Linked DNA regions of Homo sapiens: all the other regions are linked to region 3. The links are contacts of gene promoters, found by promoter capture Hi-C in blood cells and fetal thymus (Javierre and others, 2016). All regions are on one chromosome and are shown on one strand. The core of a region is centred on a gene start or on the middle of the fragment in contact, and the rest is flanking DNA. Distances in the headings are between cores, read along the strand shown.

Region 1 (4,586 bases), core at 1,068-3,567, 200 kb after region 3:
CTCCACAATGATTATCTGCTGAACACTTTATTACAACCAAGGGATCTGTTTACTGGGAGAAACTGTGTCTTCAATATTGGCATGGGAGTCACTTTTCTTGCCTTGGCTGCAAAAGTATTCCAATAGAACTGGAGGGCTTGACTCTCCTGCCATATGCAATCAGTTGTTGCTCCTATCCTCAGGCCCTGCTTGCCATCTGGTTGCAATTTTTGGTTTATTGTTTTATTGCAGCAGAGATATTAGGAATAGCCATATTTTCTTCCCCAGGATAGTGGCAGAGCATGTTGTTAATAACCTGCATAACTTGAGAAGCTTTTTCTGTTCCCAAAGCCTTAGCTTCCACTCCTAGTCTTTGCCATCTGCCTCACAAAAGGATAATTTAAGGACATTGAGCATGCCTCTGGGATAATTTATTTCTGGATATCTCTGCTTTGGCAATGTTATTTTTATACTTCCTTTAAAATGTTAGACATACTGAGGGAACAGTTGAACAGTTTGTACACTAGTTGAGAGGAGAGCAATGCCAAAATCTAGCCTGTAGTCCATGGCAAGTTATGTGCCTGCTTTCCCTGAAGAGGGGAACCTTGTTCTTATAACACTGCCATCTGCTTGGCAAGTGCTGTGCCTGTGACACTATGCCCACCCCAGAGGGAGGAACAGCTAGCTGTAATTCATTCAAAGGTACCAACTATTAATATATTAGCTAACATGGCCCTGTAATTCATTCAAAGGTACCAACTATTAATATATTAGCTAACATGGCCCTGATCATATTAATCTTCTGTAAGTTCCCCAATGACTTTCTCACTCAGAAGAAAATCCAGTCCTTACCATCTATGCTTCTCCATTACATGGCCACTGGCCACCTTCCTCTTGCTCATGTCAGTCTGTTCCTCTGGCTTACTTGCTGTTCCTTGAACACTCCAGAAGTGTTTCTGCCCCATCCCAAATGACTTCCCCTCGATTTTCCTGTAGCTCCCTCACCTTTTCAGTGACTCTCTAACTTAAAATACTGTGACCACCTAATCCCCTCCATCATTCTCACCCTTTATTTTGATACATATTTTTATTCCCTTCTAAAATATTTTATAATTTATTTTAATTGTGTCTCTCCCACTGCTTGTTATAATGTGAGTCCCATGAAGCCAGGGACATTTATCTGTTTCATTCACAGCTGTTTCCCCAGCACCTGGAACGTGGGCACAGTGCCTACTAGTATGTAGTGGGTGAATGAATAGTCATGTTAGTTGTATACATGTGTGTGTGAATAATCCCATATAATCAACTCCATGGAACAACAACATCACTTGTTAGTAATGGGCATCTCTATCACATTATCCTATTAATTTCCCTCATAGCAGTTATCATAATTTATAGTATTTTAATTGTGTGCTTGTTTATAGTTCCAAATCTCCACTAGAGTATAAGCTTCATAATAGAGGGCTTTTATCTTCTTTTTTTATCACCTTATCCCCAGCACCTAGCATGATTTTTTCACATAGTGGATTCTCTAAAATACTACTTACTAGATGAGTATTTGATATAATATCCCCAGTCTGTGAAACAAGAAGGTAGACAGAATCAGTGCCTGTTGTCATGAATAGAAGGTGAAAGTGGTAGAAGGGAAAGGATCTGCTGTGAACATATCAAGACTGAACTCTGAATTCCTAGCTCCTGGATCTTTGTGTGTGTGTGTTTTATGTAATGGGCCATCAGGAAATTTCAGTAGGTTGGGTCTGGTCGATGGCTTCTATTTTGAGGTAGAAGCTAAAGTGTAATTTCTACTGAATGTCAGGTCAGGAGGTGTGTGAAGACTCAACCCAGCCATCCATTTTCTGCCTATATTACAATTAGCATCCATCAAGTCCTTTGTGTTAGAGAGTGATTATTATATGAAAGATAAAATGTTAGTTATTCATTAATTCATTCATGTAGTAGCTAACACTAAATAAAACCCCAAATGCCAAAATCTCAGGCTTAATATAATAGCAGTTTATTTCTCACTTGTATTAAGTCCTGATTAATGGTATGTCTTTCTCCCTCTTGGCAATCCGGTCCCCTTTCATTTTGTGCCTCGCTAGCCCTCAGGACCTCAAAGTCCCTACTGGAGCCTGTGCATTGAACCATCAGATGTGGAAGGGAGAGAGCACTGAGGGGCACGAGGGAGGTTTGGATCAGTTAGGATGGAAGTGGTGACCCACATTCAAGTGGGGACAGAACTCAGTCTCGTGGCCATATGTCTCCACCAGGGAGGCTGGGAAATGTAATCTTCCTATGTATCCAGAGGGAAGACAAACAGATTTTGATGAAAACATAGCAGTCTCTGCAACAATTTATTTATTTATTCAACACATTTATTTAGCCCATGTGGTGGTACGTAAAAGTACCAGGATGATTTCTGCCCTCTTTACAAGTGTTTTGTGAGTGGCAGTGTGATGTGATGGAAAGAGCCTGAACTTGGATCAGGTAGATCTGAGTTTAGATATCAACTCTGTGTATACTCGTAATAGGGTCTGGCACAAGTTACTGGGTATCTCGGAGCTTCAACTTTTCCAGCTGAAAAATGGAATAATGCTTATTTGGAAAAAGTAGTATTTTATTTGTATATTTTGGGGGATATTAATGTATTAATGTATCTCAAACACCAAACAGTATCTCAAGCATGTATCTACCAAGTACTCATGGGTGTGTATATATGTTACTTATTATTATCACTACCATTCCTACTATTACCACTGCTACTACCACCACCACTATTACTGCTACCTTTGCTACTCTGTATACAGTACACTTTTTGTGGTCTGAGTATAACTGTTTGAATTATTCTATGGGAACAACTTTGTTCAAACAGAGTTTTACTTGAGTGAAGAGAATTGCTCCCTGAATGCAGGTTTGTATATAATAATGCATACTATTTGTCTGCAGGTCAGATTATAAGAAACAGCAAATTTTGTCCTACTGTGCATCTTCATATTGCCCAACATGGAGCTTGTGTATAGAAATTACTTCATAGTTGTTTATTGAGTTGAATTGAACAGCAGACTTACTTACCTTTGGTCTTCAAAGTGATTCTGAGGGCTAAGATTTTGAAATTCACACAGGTGTATATTGTGTTTCTTTAGATAATTTCTGCTGCTGAAACATTGACATTGCATCCATCTAGTAAAATTGCTAAAGAAAACCTAGATGTATTTTGTGAAGCTTGGGAATCCCAAATTAGTGACATGTCAACACTGCTGAGAGAAATCAATGACGTGTTTGAAGGAAGACGAGGTGAGAAACTGTCCACATAATGAAATATGTTATTATTTTAATGTAACTCTTGTTAGTTTTTTAATGCCAAACCTCAACTGCAAATGAATTCTTGTCGTAACCCAGCTGGGTTATTTTTGTAGTAAAATATTGTTCACAAAAAAATTACAAAAATATTATTTTATCCTCCTTTATTTTAGTATCCAAGCAGTAAAGTTTGTTGTACAACAGTGTAGTAGGCCAGGTGTGGCGGCTCACACCTGTAATCCCAGCGCTTTGGGAGGCCAAGGCAGGTGGATCACTTTGAAGCCAGGAGTTCGAGCCCAACCTGGCCAACATGGTGAAACCCTGTCTCTACTAAAAATACAAAAATTAGCCGAATGTGTTGATGTGCGCCTGTAATCCCAGATACTACGGCTGAGGCACGAGAATCACTTGAACCCGGGAGGCGGAGGTTGCAGTGAGCTGAGATGGCGCCACTGCAGTCCAGCCTGGGCGACAGAGCAAGACTCTGTCTCAAAAAATAAATAAATAAATAAATAAATAAATAAATAAAACAAACAGCATAGTAGATCTCTGAATTAATATTAACATCCTAGTTTTCCTATTGAAATAGTCATTTTTAAATTTCTTCTGAATTGTTTTTTAATTATAATACAACAGCTCTTCTATAATGCAGTAATTCTATGTTTTAATTCTACTAACTTCATAATGAAATGAATGTAGTTATTTGATTTTTGAATTGCTTTCCTTCCACTTGGATGGAATCTCTTTCCTTGATGACTACATAATCTTGGAATATTGCCTGTGGTGGGTAAGTTCATTGGTATTTCTACAACATGTAGAATAGTGCCATACAATGTATAGGAAGGCATCATTTTTATTCTTTATTTTAATACCGAGTGGAAGTTTTGTTTATTTTCCATTGTACTGTGTGTCCTGTTATTTATATTTACATGTTTATATTTTTTCTCTTCAAATGGCTTCTGTAGTGTCAAAGCTTGCTTATTTTTTTAAATAAAATGTCATTTACAATTATATCAAATTACATATTTTTTATTGAGTATGCCCATTTAAACATTTCATATTTTAAAAATACTCATTTAGGATAAATGTTAATTTGCTTAAAAATCAGGGCATAATAGAATTATAGCTATAACATCATTTGTAAAGTATGATAAATGTTTACCATGCTTCCACATTTAAAAATTTCTGTGATAGTCTGAATGGCAAATCATTTTGATGCTTTGTATTTATAGTTACATAGATTTTCATATGAGCCAAATTTTGGATATTAAAAGGTAAATGATATAATTGATCCACTTTTAAAAAGA
Region 2 (5,147 bases), core at 552-3,051, 170 kb after region 3:
TCCCAAATCATCTTCTTAATGTTCCTATGGCTACTATACTAGTAAGGTCCCTACTATTTCACACCCACAATTGATACAATAGCCTGGCTCTAAGTCTTTCCTTTCCATTCTATTTTATGTACTCCTACTAGACTGATCTTTCTTTTTTTTTTTTGAGACCAAGTCTCACTCTGTCACCCAGGCTGAAGTGCAGTGGCGCCATCTCAGCTGACTGCAACCTCCGCTTCCCAGGTCCAAGCGATTCTCTGCCTCAGCCTCCTGAGTAGCTGGGATTACAGGCCCCTGCCACCACACCTGGCTAATTTTTGTATTTTTTTAGTAGAGACCGAGTTTCGCCATGTTGGCCAGGCTTGTCTTGAACTCCTGACCTCAGGTGATCCACCCGCCTCGGCCTCCTAAAGTGCTAGGATTACAGGTGTGAGCCACTGTGCCTGCCAGACTGATCTTTCCAAACCTTGACTTATACTTCACCCTGTGGCCTCTCCATTAAGATTCCAGTACTTTTTACTCAAGATCCTTAGCCTATGAGCTGACACATTATTGTGTGTATGTAATAGAATTGACAGGAGGGCTTTTGTAAGAAAATCAATCCATTAGGCACACAGGTATATTTAGGACTTTAAAAAATGATCTTGAACACTATAAGTTGGTTAAAGGTTTATTATTTTAAAAATCTTTTTAACAGTATGGAGGTTTGAAGAATATTGTAGCCTTGTATTATAATACAAGAATACTTGGATTGTTTTATTAGTAGATAATTACCATTACAGAAATCAAAAGTTTTGATAGCAACAGTGAAGAAGATAATTTTTCTAGAGGGTTGGGAGTTCAATTAATAGAATGGTTTATGCTGGGCATCATAAGAAGTTTATATAAATTCAAACTGTAGCCTAAATGAGGGCCAGCCTGTGGTTTGAATTCTCAGGAGGGAGGCTTTTGTTTTGTTTACTTTCCCCACCCAAAGTCCAGGCTGACTGACAGACAAACTTCCTTATTGTTTCTTTTTGCCTATTGACAGTTCTTTCCGGGCCCCCATTATATTGAAGATGTCATCCCTTGGGGCCTAAAGCCCTGTCTTTTTTCTCTCTCTGAGGATCCGTGAAAACCCAAGGGTGAAAACCCAAGGCCGTTCAGCTTGTGGAGATTGGCAGTGACCCCTGACTTCTCCCCGGCCTCGCCCCAGCCCAAGCCTTGGCACCTGCTTACTGCTCGGGTTTTAGGGTATTCTTTGGTTTTTGACTCATGGGATTTCTCTTACTGTCTTGTAGGGCAGGAGGCTTTTAGATTGTGTAGTTTGCATTACCACTGGAAACAAAAATTATGATGTTTTTCAAACTGGGTGAGGGCAAAATTTGTCACAGTTCTTAAGAGTGTGCTATTATTTTCTGGTTAGAAAGCTTCGTATGATAATCCCTACAATCGTCAAGGTGAAACCGTTTCTTGTTCCTGAAGTAAGACTCCAAAGCTGAGTTTCTCCTCATTGTGCCTTACCTTCAAGGTTAGAGAGAAGTCTAGATTTTAATTTGTATGCCTGTTTAACTTTCTCCCCTCGTCTTTCTTGTTAGGAGAAACAATTGCAGCACTTACAGACATAACCAACTTGAACCATCTGGAATCTGATGGGCAGATCACAATTTTTACAGACAAAACAGGAGTGATAAAGGCTGCAAGATTACTTCTTTCTTCAGTGACAAAAGTGTTGTTGCTGGCAGACCGAGTAGTCATTAAACAGATAATAACATCAAGAAATAAGGTACTTACCTTTCTGATGTTGCTGTATTTTTGTCTTTCTGTGTTGTTCAAAGTGCTTTTTATGACTCTTAGTGGTGGATTGCTTGGCTTGTGTGTCGATGAAGAATGCAGCTAGCTGTGGGAATTAATGTGCAATGCAGGATACATTGACACACTGATCATCTGTACGTTGAATGCACTTGTGGCCCTGGGTTCCTCCCGGGGCTATGCATGTCTGAGCGTTGCTTAAAAAAAAAAAAAAAGAAAAGTTCTTTTTAGGTTAATTGTAAGTAATTTGGCAATGCTTGTCTATTATAATTGTTTATAACTCTGTCTGTAGTTTAAAAGTAGTGTTTCTTCTATATGTGCAATTCTTAAATGATGGGTATGCTGTGCCTAAACTTTTGAATGCAAGTAATGTCTCCTCTTAGAGAATCATTATCCACTTGTTAAGGCTTATTGGTAAAAGCTTTAAATGTGTACAACATTTGGAAAGAAAAGGTGAGCACTATGATAATGTATGTAGCAGAAACCTAGTTGATAAAAATACTGAATTCTTCTGTACTTTTTTTCCCTCCCAAATCAGAGACTAACAATATATAACTTAAGACACAGTTAAATCAGTGGAAATGATAATTATCCACAACTACAAAATTTCTGTACTCAGAGTCCCTAAATGTTACTGAATAATCTCAAAACTTACAGAACAGATTTAAACTCTTCCAGTCCAGAAGTTAATCTCTCAGATGATGGTCATGCTCCATGATCATCTGGGAATCCAGGGTATGTACGATCACTTCTTGCTTTGGATAATTCCCTAGGCAAAGAGGAGAGCAGTTGGCCAGGGAAGGAGTTGTCCTAGAGGATTTGAGGATAAAACCACTTGATAAGTGTTGAATGAATCAGAAATTGGAGAGGTGGATCTGGCAGCGCTGGAGAAATACAAACAACCTTCCCCTCTTTGAAAGATGGAGGTTCTCACAGTGGTGGCAACGTGCCTTATCAGTGTTAGTCGCCTGAACTTCCTGAGCTGCCAGGGCAGATTAACATGCCAAATATTCATCATATTCTCAGGAAAAATAAGTAAACAGAGGATATCTGTGTTTTTTTTTAACTTATCTTGTTGCGACTAAAACAATCTAATAATGTTATTTTAAAGAAAAGTATTTGAAAATATGTTTCACATCTATTTACTTTGTTTCTTACATCAAGAAAACACATAACATTTTAGTCACTGGCTCTACCAGATTCACACACTCTTTATTCACCCCTGATGGCCCATTCCTGACTGAGCCAGACTAATTTTCCCACCCTTAAAGTCCCACACTTCCCTTTCGACTCTATACTCTGAAGATGATGAGGTTCCTTCTGCTTTCCTGAGAATGTTAGGGTTCCTATCATCCTGGTTCACTGAACCTTAAAGCTTGTGTGTGCTGACTTTCATCCTCACCCCTTCCCAGTTCTCTGAAGATTTGATTACTGTGGTCCTGCCCATTCCCACCTTTTAGACTTGGCTACATAAATGATCCCTTCCTTTGTATATGTAGTCATTTCTTTTATTCTTTTTCCTTTTCCTTTTCAAGTAACTCAAAATCTCATCATATAAACAAATCATTCCCCTAATAATTCTGTGCCTTGAATCTACTTCTACTTCTCTGAGCATCCCCTTGTGTGTCTTCTATCTGGCTCCTCCTCCTCAGCTTTCACCTAGAATTCAGAATTTTCCTTTTCTTCTCTCTACTCAGCCTTGACAATCTCAGTCTCTTGAGTAGCTCTCACCAAATAATGAATTATTATCTGTTTTGCAGGTTCTCGCAACTATGGAAAGACTAGAGAAAGTGAATAGCTTTCAAGAGTTTGTCCAAATATTCAGTCAATTTGGAAATGAAATGGTGGAGTTTGCACATCTGAGTGGAGATAGACAAAATGTATGTATTCATCACATTTTACAATCTTCAGATAAATACATACTTTTTAGTTTGGATGGAGGTATGATCGTTAGGATTGTTTGGACTGGTTTCTTTGCTTATTAAGTCTATAGCCTTGGTCTTGAAAGCCTTTCATAGATAAGCCAGGATAAAGTAAGTAGATCTATATGTCTTTTTTTGTACATTTATAACAGTTAATTTTGTTCCCACCTCACACACTGGGAAAGGTCATACTTGCTATCAGGGCTCAACTCAAGTACTTCTTCCTTTTATTTGGTTACTTTCTCTTTTATGAAGCTTTCCATTTGATTCCTCTACTAGGGCTCAGGCACATAAAATTGAGTCATCATATGTATTCTTATAGTATCTTGTTAGATATTTGTTATTCTTACCGTATTAGATTAATAGTAATAACCCAAGCCATTATTTATTTGCACTGCCTATGTGTTAGGTACTTAATATACATGATCTCATTTAATTTTCAAAACATCCCTATGAGGTAGGTATTGTTAACTACTGTTTTACATATAGGGAAACTGAACCTGAGACAAGGATAAACTTTCCCAAGGTCACTGTGCTAGCAGATCGAACTCAGTTATATCTGATTCTAAAGTCTGTAGTTCTCAAACTACAACATGATATTTGTTTTTTATTTTATTTTATTTTATTTTTTCTGAGATGGAGTCTCTCTCTGTCACCCAGGCTGGAGTGCAGTGTCGTGATCACGGCTCACTGCAACCTCCACCTCCTGGGTTCAAGTGATTCTCATGCCTCAGCCTCCCGAGTAGCTGGGACTACAGGCATGCACCACCACGCCCAGCTAACTTTTTGTATTTTTAGTAGAGACAGGGTTTCACCATGTTGGCCAGGCTGGTCTCGAACTCCTAATCTCAGGTGATCCGCCCGCCTCAGCCTCCCAAAGTGCTGGGATTACAGGCGTGAATCACCGTGCCCAGCCAATATTAGTTCCTTATGGGTCTGTTCCCCAATTCAGACAGTAAGCTCCTCAGTTTTGGGAGATGGAAGATCATATTATGTCTAGGATTGACTTTTCCTTGTTGGGGTATTTGTGTAGGAGTCTGTCTTGTTGGCAGGTTAAATATATATAATAATTGACCATTTCTTGGGATGGTTCTGGGTGTAGTCCCATAGGCTAGTCTCTCAGTTTTTGATATGAACTTTCCCAATTGCAGCTGGAGTTGAAAAATGGGTATTGGTCTGGCAAGTGGCAGGCTAAATAATGGCATTGGTTTGTAATACCAATGGTGTTTCTATAGGCAGGTACTTTATTGTTTCATTTTCTGTCTGCCATTATTGTTCTTTATAAAACAAATTTTCTTTCTTTTCCTTCTCTTTCTCTTAATCTTCCTTCTTCTCCTCATTCTCCCCAATGATAATTATTAGCCTGAGTATTTTTATAATAATAGTAGCTTATAATCTAGCATTTTCTTGATCACTTGAGCAAGCGTGGCATGAGTCATAGGTTCT
Region 3 (4,956 bases), core at 1,100-3,599:
AGTAGAGAGAGAATTGAAATCCACAGTTTACCTGCAAACTTCATTTTAGGCTGTAGTTGTAAACCGTCCCCAAAATACCCAAATACCCCCATAAAAACAATATAGAAAGCCCACGTGGTGGTGGTTTTTTTTGTTTTGTTTTGTTTTTTTGTTTGTTTTTTGTTTGTTTTTTGAGATGGAGTCTTGCTCTGTCGCCCAGGCTAGAGTGCAGTGGCCTGATCTCGACTCACTGCAAGCTCCGCCTCCCAGGTTCACGCCATTCTCCTGCCTTAGCTTCCCGAGTAGCTGGGACTTCAGGCGCCCGACACCATGCCCGGCTAATTTTTTGTATTTTCAGTAGAGACGGGATTTCACCGTGTTGGCCAGGATGGTGTCGATCTTCTGACCTTGTGATCCGCCCGCCTCGGCCTCCCAAAGTGCTGGAGTTACAGGCGTGAGCCACCGTGCCCGGCTGCCCACGTGTTTTTATATCAGATTAATTTACTCGGAGAAGAATGGCCTGGTTTTCATTTGCCTTCTATTTGGGCACCGTTATTGTTAATTTCAGTAACCAAAATGAAGGGAATAAAAAGGAAAGTAAGAGGTAAAAGCTTGTATTCCCAAACCAGAGAATCTACACTGAAATCAAAAGTCTAATGCTTTATTTTTTTGGCTAAACTTTGGTCCATTCTAAGTTGACCATACCTTCCCTGGTGAACAGAAAGAGAAGAAAAGAAAATAAAGAAATTTTAATTTTTAAGAAAGGTTTAAGGTTTTTGTTTTTGTTTTTGTTTTTTTTTTTTTTTTTGAAGGACTACACTTTAACAGATTTTCAATCTGTTGGATCAGCTTTTTTAGAATGTTATGCATTGCCACGCTATGCTTTTTGGGAAGAAGTCTCTTGAGTTTTTAAAGTAATCATAGTTCATCTTACCTTTTTCAAATAATCTGATCTATTTTTTGTGACAACTGCTATGTTGGGGGACCTAGTGAAGCCCAAGGTTTTCATGAATTACACCTCAATTCAGCCATCAGGATTAATATGTTTAAATTCCAGTTGGACAGCCCACTGTTAGCTGATACCTAATAGAAAATACCTGACTTCTAAGTCCCCCATCATGTCTCCCCTGTTTCAACAGCACTACCCTTATCTCTCAGCCAATCAGGCCATAAAGGGTTAAGATCACTAGTTTCCTTTTGAATATTAACATTTCACAATATTGTGTACATGTGTGCATGCCACTTACAGCACTGAACCCTATTGATCCTTACCTCTATGATCTTCCCTAATCTTCATTGCATCATGTCAATGACTAATCATGAGAGATCAGGCAGTCTGACTTCTAGGTCTGCATTTGGGACCTCTATGCTTTTCTGCCTCCATAATTATTTTGTTTATGCAATAAAATAAAATAATAAAATAGGAAAAGCAGGTTAAAATGCTGGCTCTGCAACACCAGCCTGAAAGGAATTGCGTCCGCCTCTCTGATGGAAAACAGCTTAGCAATTCGAATATATCACCCCAACAACCATCATCAAAAGAGAACCCTGGGACCTGCCATAAAGCAAATGCTTGGTGTGAATCAATGGATGGCTGAGTAAATAGCCAAAAGTGAACTGCAAGCAGCAGGAATGGATTTGAGAAAAATCAACAATTCAGCATGGCCCTCAGATACGGTGTGGGCCTTCCAAGGCCTGCGCGTGCTTGCTGCAGGGAAAGAGAGTAAACCAGAAGCCTAGTTTTGAAGGGGAACAGGTTACCTACTGGCACCAGCCTCTGTTGATTACACACCGCAAGAGCCTGGAGAGGAAGCAGGTGAATCCAGTTTTCTCTGTCTCTAAACACCTCAGTTTACCTAGCTCTATTGTGGGGGTCTTGCAATTTCAAGTTCCTTCTGTGATGATCCAAGAAATAATAGGTCTAGCAAGTGCTTTATGTAAACCAAAAAGTGCCGGCACAAGGTTGAGGAGGCAGCACTGACCAGGTGTGTCCAGGGTAAACTCTCTAGAGGAGCGTTTCATAAATTGAACGTGCATTGGGATCTCCTGGGAATTTTGATGAAATGAACATCCCGCTTCATGGGTCTGGAGTGGGGCCTCAGCGATGCTAACAAGCTTCCAGGTGATGCTGATGCTGCCGGTCCGCGGACCACACTCCGGAGTAGCAAGGGGCCAGAAGGGCCAAATCTGCCTGCGTGGAGGGAAGTCGGGGAGATGGGGAGAATGGAAAGAAGGACGGTAGAAGGGAAGCTGCTAGGAAGGAGAGATCGGTGCGGGGAGGAGGGGGGTTCCAAGAAGAAGGGGGAGGCTGCGGTGCTGGAGCGAGGATGCGCAGACCGAGGCAGGGAGGCGGGGGTGCGGGAGGCTCCGCGGCTGCGCGGGCGCGTGCTGGTGGCCTCGGCGGAGGCTCAGTCCCGGCCCGCGCCCGCGGCGCCCCCGCTGCGGCCCGAGCGGCCTGGCTGCGGGATCTGTGCGCACGGATGGCGCGGCCGCCCCGGCAGCACCCGGGGGTCTGGGCGTCGCTGCTCCTGCTGCTACTGACGGGGCCCGCCGCCTGCGCAGCCAGCCCCGCGGACGACGGTGCGGGCCCGGGGGGCCGGGGACCCCGGGGACGCGCGCGGGGGGACACGGGCGCCGACGAGGCGGTGCCGCGCCACGACTCCTCCTACGGCACCTTCGCGGGGGAGTTCTACGACCTGCGCTACCTGTCGGAGGAGGGTGAGGCTGCGGGAGGGCGAGGGGTTGCGGGAGGGGAGACCGGGGGTGGGGGACCGAGGATCGGGGGAACGAGGAGAGGGGGCGAGGGAGGGGGAGGGGGTCGGAAAAGATGTCCGTGGAGGCAGCTCTTGCAGAGGCGAGGCCAGGATGGGGAGCGCAGTGCCCAGGCCTCCGCCGGCCTGGAGGAAAGGCCCAAAGAGCTGTCAATGCCTGCCGCCCGCTTTACAGATGGGGAGAGTGAGGCTGGGAGAGGGAGGGGTCATCCAAGTTCTGCAAGGCTGTGGATAGGGGTGGGTGCTGAGTCTAAGCTCCCCCAGTTCTTAGATCTGGCTTCCACCTTTGCCGCCTGGGGTTGGGTTATAGGGGAGGAGGCCGCCATCTGGCCAGGGCAGCTAGGGGGAAGCAGAAAAACCCCAACCTAAAGAGAGAGGTTGCCTTATTTCCTCCCTGTCTGTATTGACTTAAATTTGCAGTGACCAGCGCCCACCTCGTAGCATTCTGTTCCTGCTCACTGACCCGTCAGAGCTGGGTCACATCAGCCTCCCCACTCCCATCCCTCCTCTTTTATGACGCCACATATGTTATGGTCCCCTAGTGCGAGCCACCATTGTTGTGGCCTGCTGGGCCCGCAGACTGGGAGTTTGTCAGCCAAGGGCCTCCCTGTAGAGCTGCTTCAACGAGCACAAAAGCCAAGCGGATGGTGGTCAGAAGGAATGGAAACTGGCCTCTTTAAGCAACTTTGGGAAGTAGTGACTTTCCTTTTCTTCTGCTAAGAGGGATATCCAACCATCAAGCTGGGGTTTGAAGTGTTGAGTCCCAGGAGCTCATATCTGTTAGTGGATGTGTCTGTTGTTAGGATTAAGTTCAGCTGTATACAACAAGCAAACATTAATAGCTTCAACAAGATAGAAGTTTCTCTCTTACAGAAAGAAAACTAGAAATAGGTAATCCAGAACTGGTCTGGAGGCTCCTTGGTCACCAGTGTCTCTGGATCCTGCCCTTCTGTTTCTTCACAATTCTTAGCATGTAACTTCATGGTTCAAAATAACTGCTTGAGCTACAGCCATTATGTTCACATTCTAGACAGTGGGAAAAATGAAGCAGGAAGAAGGTCACTGACTACTTTATAAAGGGATTACTCGGAAGTTTCATATAACAATTTTTATACTTCTTTGGCCACAACTTAATCATATGGTTGCACATAGGTACAAAGGAGGATGTAAAATAGAGCCTATTAGCTGAGACATAATATGCCCAGTTCAAAAATCAGAATTATTGTATTAAAGAAGATGGAGAGAATGGATTTGGGGAAATGTATTAAGTAGAGGCTTAACTGCTGAATTAGAGATTTTAACATATAGTGGTTTAAATAAGCTAGTTTATTTTTCTCTCTGATAAGAGTCTGGTTGGTCTGGGGCTGGTGGGATGACTCTGTTCCGCAAGGTCATTCAGGGACCCGGGTTCTTTCCATCTTGTTGCTCTGCCATCCCCCTGAGGCTTTGTCCTCATCAGTACAGTAGAAGCCAGGTTGCATGTCCTTGTTCAAGATTGAGGGAAAGAAAAAGAGAAGTTCAGGGCAAGTAGTTACCTTTTAGGCTGGCTGCCCACATTACTGCTGTTCACATTCCTTTGGCAAAAACATAGTTACAATGACCTAGCTTCAAGGGAGACTAAGAAATGTAGTCTTCTAGCTGGAGAGCCATGTGGCGGAATCTGTCACTCTGGAAAAGAATAAATATTCCGAAGCCCGTCTGTTTCTGAAAGCATCTAATGTATCTTTACACTGTACACAGCCTAGTGCTGCCAGGTGACTTAAATGTGGTATGTGAGAACTTGTATTCTGATTGGGCTCATGCATCTAACAAATGAAGGATAAGCTCAGATTCTGTACGTCCTTTGAGTCTCTCTGCAGAGAGAATGATATGTTCATTGTATAGTCCAGAAAGTTTTATGAATGTGGACATCAGGTGGGCCACAGCCATCAAGGACAGCTTTTATAGAGTCAAGCCATGAAGTAGGAAAGACTTCAGTGACACAGAAGAGGGAAGGCATTTAGGTGAGGTGATCACATAGCAGGCAGCAGGGCTTTGTACCGATCCCTAGTGTGTCTGCTTCGCGCCCCCACCATTCTGCACATAAAACTGGTTTAACCCTCCTGAAGTCTGCCTCTAACCTGTTGGCATTGCACTCAAAAGTCTGTGATGGGGCCGGGCGTGGTGCTTCACGACTGTAATCCCAGCACTTTGGGAGGCTGAGGTG
Region 4 (4,506 bases), core at 57-2,556, 220 kb after region 3:
TCCATCATCCTGTTCATCTCATTAAATTATAGAATTCATGGTACATGGTGAATAGTGAAAATTAATCTGAAAAAAAGTGGCAACAAAAACCAACCACCTGGATTGGTTCTCTCAAATGTCTGGTTATGGAATATGTATGGGTGACAAATTTTGTCTTGCCTAGATGGAATTGGGAAGGTCCTAACCCTTTTGACCTCATGCTTGAAAATTCATCATCCTTTTATAATTGAGCATATTTGAGATGAGCTCTAGGTCCCTTGCGTAATCTAGACATAATTTGTGTGGCTGAATATCACAGGTCTGTGTGACCCTCCAGAATAATTGGAGGTCTGGTGTAGAGAAGCCTCTCCAGGGATGGATTCTGCATCTGGTCTGTGGAAACTCCTTCTGAAAACAGTTAAACCCTTGTGCATTCCTGGTACTGGAAAAAGTTTAGGAGTTCCTGACAGACTTTTTATATCTAGGCTTTATTTTTAAAATTCTACGTAAAAATTATTAGTAAGTATATTTCTTACCAACTATCCATAGACATCAGTCTAAAATAGTGGTGTTTTCTCTTTCTACCAGGTTTTTGCTGCAGAGGGTTTAAAGCTTACTTCCAGTGTTCAAGCTTTTTCAAAACAGGTAACACATGTCTACCTACCTGGAGCTGGTGGTGGTATTATGTATAACCTACTTTGGGGGTATAATATCAATGTATAAATGTGTTTAAGGTATTAAAGATGGAGTTTTGTTGCGGGCTGTTATAACTTGTTAAATTACATTTCAGCTGAAAGACGATGACAAGCTTATGCTTCTCCTGGAAATAAACAAGCTAATTCCTCTATGCCACCAGCTCCAGACAGTAACTAAGACTTCTTTGCAGAATAAAGTATTTCTAAAGGTAAAAGAGACATATGAAAAACTTTCACACATCTATCTTTATCTGGTTAAAGCCCCTTTTTCTTCAAATAAACTGTTAGTACCCACAGAAGGGCAATTTATTTCCTTTTTTCATGCCTTGTCTACAAGAATCATTTATTATCTACTCTCATAACTGACCCCAGAGAGTAGCAGATTCACCAAATAAAGTAGTTTTTTGGACATCATTAATTCCATAGCACTGAACAGCTGCCCTTCAATTCTGAAGTCATTACCTCTGCAACTAGGACACAGGTGCCTCCGAGTCTGGTCTCCCATAATTTGTCTGAGAGAATATGGGTTTGTGCCCACAAAATAGAGTGCAAGGAATTGCAAAGGATGGGATTTAATTCCACTATTTGGAGTGTTTTGAGAAGCCCCTAAACAGCCTGCAGTAGAATGATTAATTTTCCACCCACTCTTTCTGCTGGGGTTCCATGAGATAGACATGAAATCTAGGCAGCTACCCCTGCACCTGTGTCCTGGGGCTTTGAGTCAGCTCATGTGCCTAAATCCATATCTCTTTCAAGATCCCTTAGATTTCCATATGGAGAAATTTTATCATGTTAAAACTAAATAAATGGTAAGGTCTTTTAAGTACTACTTTTAGAATATCATTTGCATGCTTTTTGTCATTGTAGGTTGACAAGTGTATTACGAAGACAAGATCCATGATGGCTCTCTTAGTCCAACTTCTTTCACTTTGTTATAAACTGCTGAAGAAGGTGAGGTAGTTTTTCTATTTTAGACTCATACTTTAAAAAATGGTTTAAAAGAAAATAGTTACTACTTAATTTTGTAATTTTTTTTTCAGAGTGAAACCAGATACTAATTGTCTTAACTCTTTCCAGCTTCAGATGGAAAATAACGGATGGGTCTCAGTTACAAATAAGGACACTATGGATAGTAAAACTTGAGAAGCTTTTGGGGTCAGATCTCTGGAACATCATGTGATGAAGCTGACATTTTTAAAAATCAAATGATCCTTTATCTTTTCAGAAATTCATCAATTTTATAAAGAAAACAATATTGAAATTTTGCTCTATTTTCTGATCATGAAACTGATTGTAAAGCTTTTTGACAACTAATAAATGTCTTGGTAATTGCTAGATTCTAATTGTAGTGTGATTTTTAAAATAGAACATTGCACTAATGTTCTTTAAAAGTCAAACCAAATATCCCAACTGTCTCAAGGACAATTTAATCCACAAGAAGCTATTTTGAATATGTGCTTAGCTTTGGCATATTTTACCTTAACTGTTTTCTTTATCATCTAGATCACTAATGTCAGCAGCAAACATACAGTAGTCTGGGTGAATGCAGGGTTTTCCTTAAACCTGTGGACTCTTCAATCCCTCTGTTTACCAAGTGTGACAAAAATCCCCTTGATGACCCTGTCCCAGATTGTCCATGCCAGCAGCAAGTTTGTTCCCTAATAAGCATTTTGTACAGCAAGGGTGGGTCTGCTGTGCTGTGTATGTCCCTCACCTACTCCCAAAAGTAAGGTAATGGAACTCCACAGAATCCTGGAACAACTCCTGGAGAGTATGAGATGGGTTTTTGGTTCTAGTTCTAGCATAGCTGGCCAGTCTGCCCTGAATATTAGCTGGGATTCTAAGCCTATCTTATAGACTTAAAAGATATTTTGAACTTTCTCAGTATTGATTGATGGAATGGAAGACAAAGACAGAATAAGGAAGCCAAGAATCTATTTAAATTCTGAATATCACACATTTGAAATGTTCACTATAAAACAAAACAAAAAACATCTTTCTTTAGTCTTTTTAATTTAGGAGTTTAAAGCTTTTCTTGTTTTTGTGGGTGGGGTCATGATTGAAGGATCTGGTTTATAGGTTTTCTCCTTATAATATAGTATGGCCAACTTTGTGTTAGACTTCAGTCGTAGTATTTGTATCTTAATGCTTTGACATTCATTTTGAAATCTAACAGGGTATGTCAGTTATCAAATGGCAGTAGATAATATAAGCTTATCTGATGATCTTTATCTGGGTCAGCCACCACAATCAGTATTCACAAAAGATCCGGAAGAACCACAGTAATGCCAATTGACCACAGCTAGTCAATATTTTATTGAGGAAAATTTTCACTGTAGTCCTTCGGGAGAAAATGTGATGCACTCAGCTCTGTTAATAACCTTTTTAAAATCTTTCCTTAAACAGTCAAAATCATTAAGCATGATTTTTATTCTCTGAAACCAAAGTACTCTTTTAAATTACAATAGAAATAATGGGAGAATGATGTGAGGTAATGTTACATGTAAAATGTTATACACAATTCTTTTACTACGTTTACTGTCATAGTTTTATGACGCCTTCAAGAGTCATTGTGCTACTTAAAGTGAGGATCTGCTGGTTTGTTTATATTTTCAGCTAATAGCACCATCGTGGAGGTGTTTATCCACTTACTACATGTATCATGTCTGGGGGGTATATTTAGGGGGATAGTCATGCTGGCACTCAGATTACAAGTTTTTCCTATGAACCAAAATGTTGTTTTATTTACAAAATAAGTAAGTATTATTTTGTAAATAATTAAAACTTAAAAATTCCAACCCCCACTTGTACTTTCATTAGATAATATTTTTGCATACCTGAAAAAATACTGTTCTCTAGTGAAAGAAAGAGCAAGTGGGGGTTGGGAAGGGGTAACTTATGACTTCAACAGCATAAGAGGATAGATAACCAATGGAATTAATACATCGAATGATTTCTTCTGTATAAAAGTATATTTTATTTAAAAACAGTGATATTGACATGTATGTTATAGCCCTTACAGAAAAATAACACGTTTTATAGTCCTTTTATTTGAAATTCAGTGTAAATCACTCTTAAACTATAAATTCACAGTTGTTGGAGGTTTTTTTTTACTTTAAATGATGTGAAAGCATTTGTTCCATTCAAAGGCCCCTATGCCTTTGAATGACATATTCTCAGTAACTTCTTTGCCAGTAACTAGAGTATGTGAGACTGAGTAACTATAATGTGCATATTTCAAGAATTAGCTTCCCGCTGCATTATAACACATTTCCTAGGAAAGCCTTTGTATTTTTCATAGCCTTTTCACATATCCCTCATTTAAGAAGTCACAGTGTTGCAGTTTTACTTTGTTTCAGAGGGGAAGGCCATCTTGTTGGCATAAGGGGGACAGAAGATATAATATACTCTACACTCCGGCCTCTTCCCTACAACCTAAAAGGGAGAGGAGTTGAGGCAGATGGGCTAGGACTAGGCTTTTTGGTAGGCACATTATAGAAGACTGGGTAAGAAAGGTGGGTTAGGTTTTTTTAAACTTCAAACTGTTAGGAAAACGAGGCAAAAGCAATAACCATACCATATGTTCAAACAGAAGTAGGTTAAAATGTAGTAGTTATCCCTTGGTTTACATAGGGGATTGGTTCCAGGAACTTCCACATATACCCAAATCCATACGTGAGAACTCAAGTCCTGCAGTTGGCCCTTTGGAACCTGAGTATATGAACCTGCTCTATAAGTGGGTTTCGTGTTTGGTTAATGATATATTTTTGACTCGTTTATAGTTGAAAATAGTCCATGCATAAGTGGACCCTTGCAGTTCAAACCTATGTTG

What was found. The method cuts DNA at HindIII sites, captures the fragments that hold promoters and counts their contacts. A CHiCAGO score of 5 or more calls a contact.
Region 1: a fragment that was not itself captured here is called in contact with the fragment with the promoter of FRRS1L in region 3 in 2 of 17 cell types (activated CD4 T cells and total CD4 T cells); the score reaches 5.9 in activated CD4 T cells.
Region 2: a contact is called between a fragment that was not itself captured here and the fragment with the promoter of FRRS1L in region 3, in 2 of 17 cell types (activated CD4 T cells and non-activated CD4 T cells). The highest score is 5.8, in activated CD4 T cells.
Region 4: a fragment that was not itself captured here is called in contact with the fragment with the promoter of FRRS1L in region 3 in 1 of 17 cell types (activated CD4 T cells); the score reaches 5.2 in activated CD4 T cells.

Annotation. Positions count from the first base shown.
Region 1 is chr9:108,964,065-108,968,650 of GRCh38, reverse strand. It overlaps CTNNAL1 (catenin alpha like 1), which reads left to right. Exons shown (of 19, transcript NM_003798.4): 11 at 3,123-3,273. Among named protein-coding and RNA genes, the nearest start is that of ABITRAM, 32 kb to the right of the region's middle. The HindIII fragment of the contact is 1,773 bases long and covers 1,431-3,203 here.
Region 2 is chr9:108,989,238-108,994,384 of GRCh38, reverse strand. It overlaps CTNNAL1 (catenin alpha like 1), which reads left to right. Exons shown (of 19, transcript NM_003798.4): 3 at 1,566-1,753; 4 at 3,540-3,659. It overlaps LOC105376216 (a long non-coding RNA gene), which reads right to left. Exons shown (of 7, transcript XR_007061724.1): 2 at 2,435-2,548; 3 at 1,762-1,976. It also overlaps the pseudogene RNA5-8SP3. Among named protein-coding and RNA genes, the nearest start is that of CTNNAL1, 22 kb to the left of the region's middle. The HindIII fragment of the contact is 803 bases long and covers 1,400-2,202 here.
Region 3 is chr9:109,164,642-109,169,597 of GRCh38, reverse strand. It overlaps FRRS1L (ferric chelate reductase 1 like), which reads left to right and starts at 2,349. Exons shown (of 5, transcript NM_014334.4): 1 at 2,349-2,697. The coding sequence starts at 2,460. The HindIII fragment of the contact is 4,411 bases long and covers 2,097-4,956 here.
Region 4 is chr9:108,940,080-108,944,585 of GRCh38, reverse strand. It overlaps CTNNAL1 (catenin alpha like 1), which reads left to right. Exons shown (of 19, transcript NM_003798.4): 16 at 568-624; 17 at 770-883; 18 at 1,542-1,625; 19 at 1,752-2,009. The coding sequence ends at 1,817. It overlaps ABITRAM (actin binding transcription modulator), which reads right to left. Exons shown (of 6, transcript NM_017832.4): 6 at 3,632-4,506. Among named protein-coding and RNA genes, the nearest start is that of ABITRAM, 7.9 kb to the right of the region's middle. The HindIII fragment of the contact is 1,034 bases long and covers 790-1,823 here.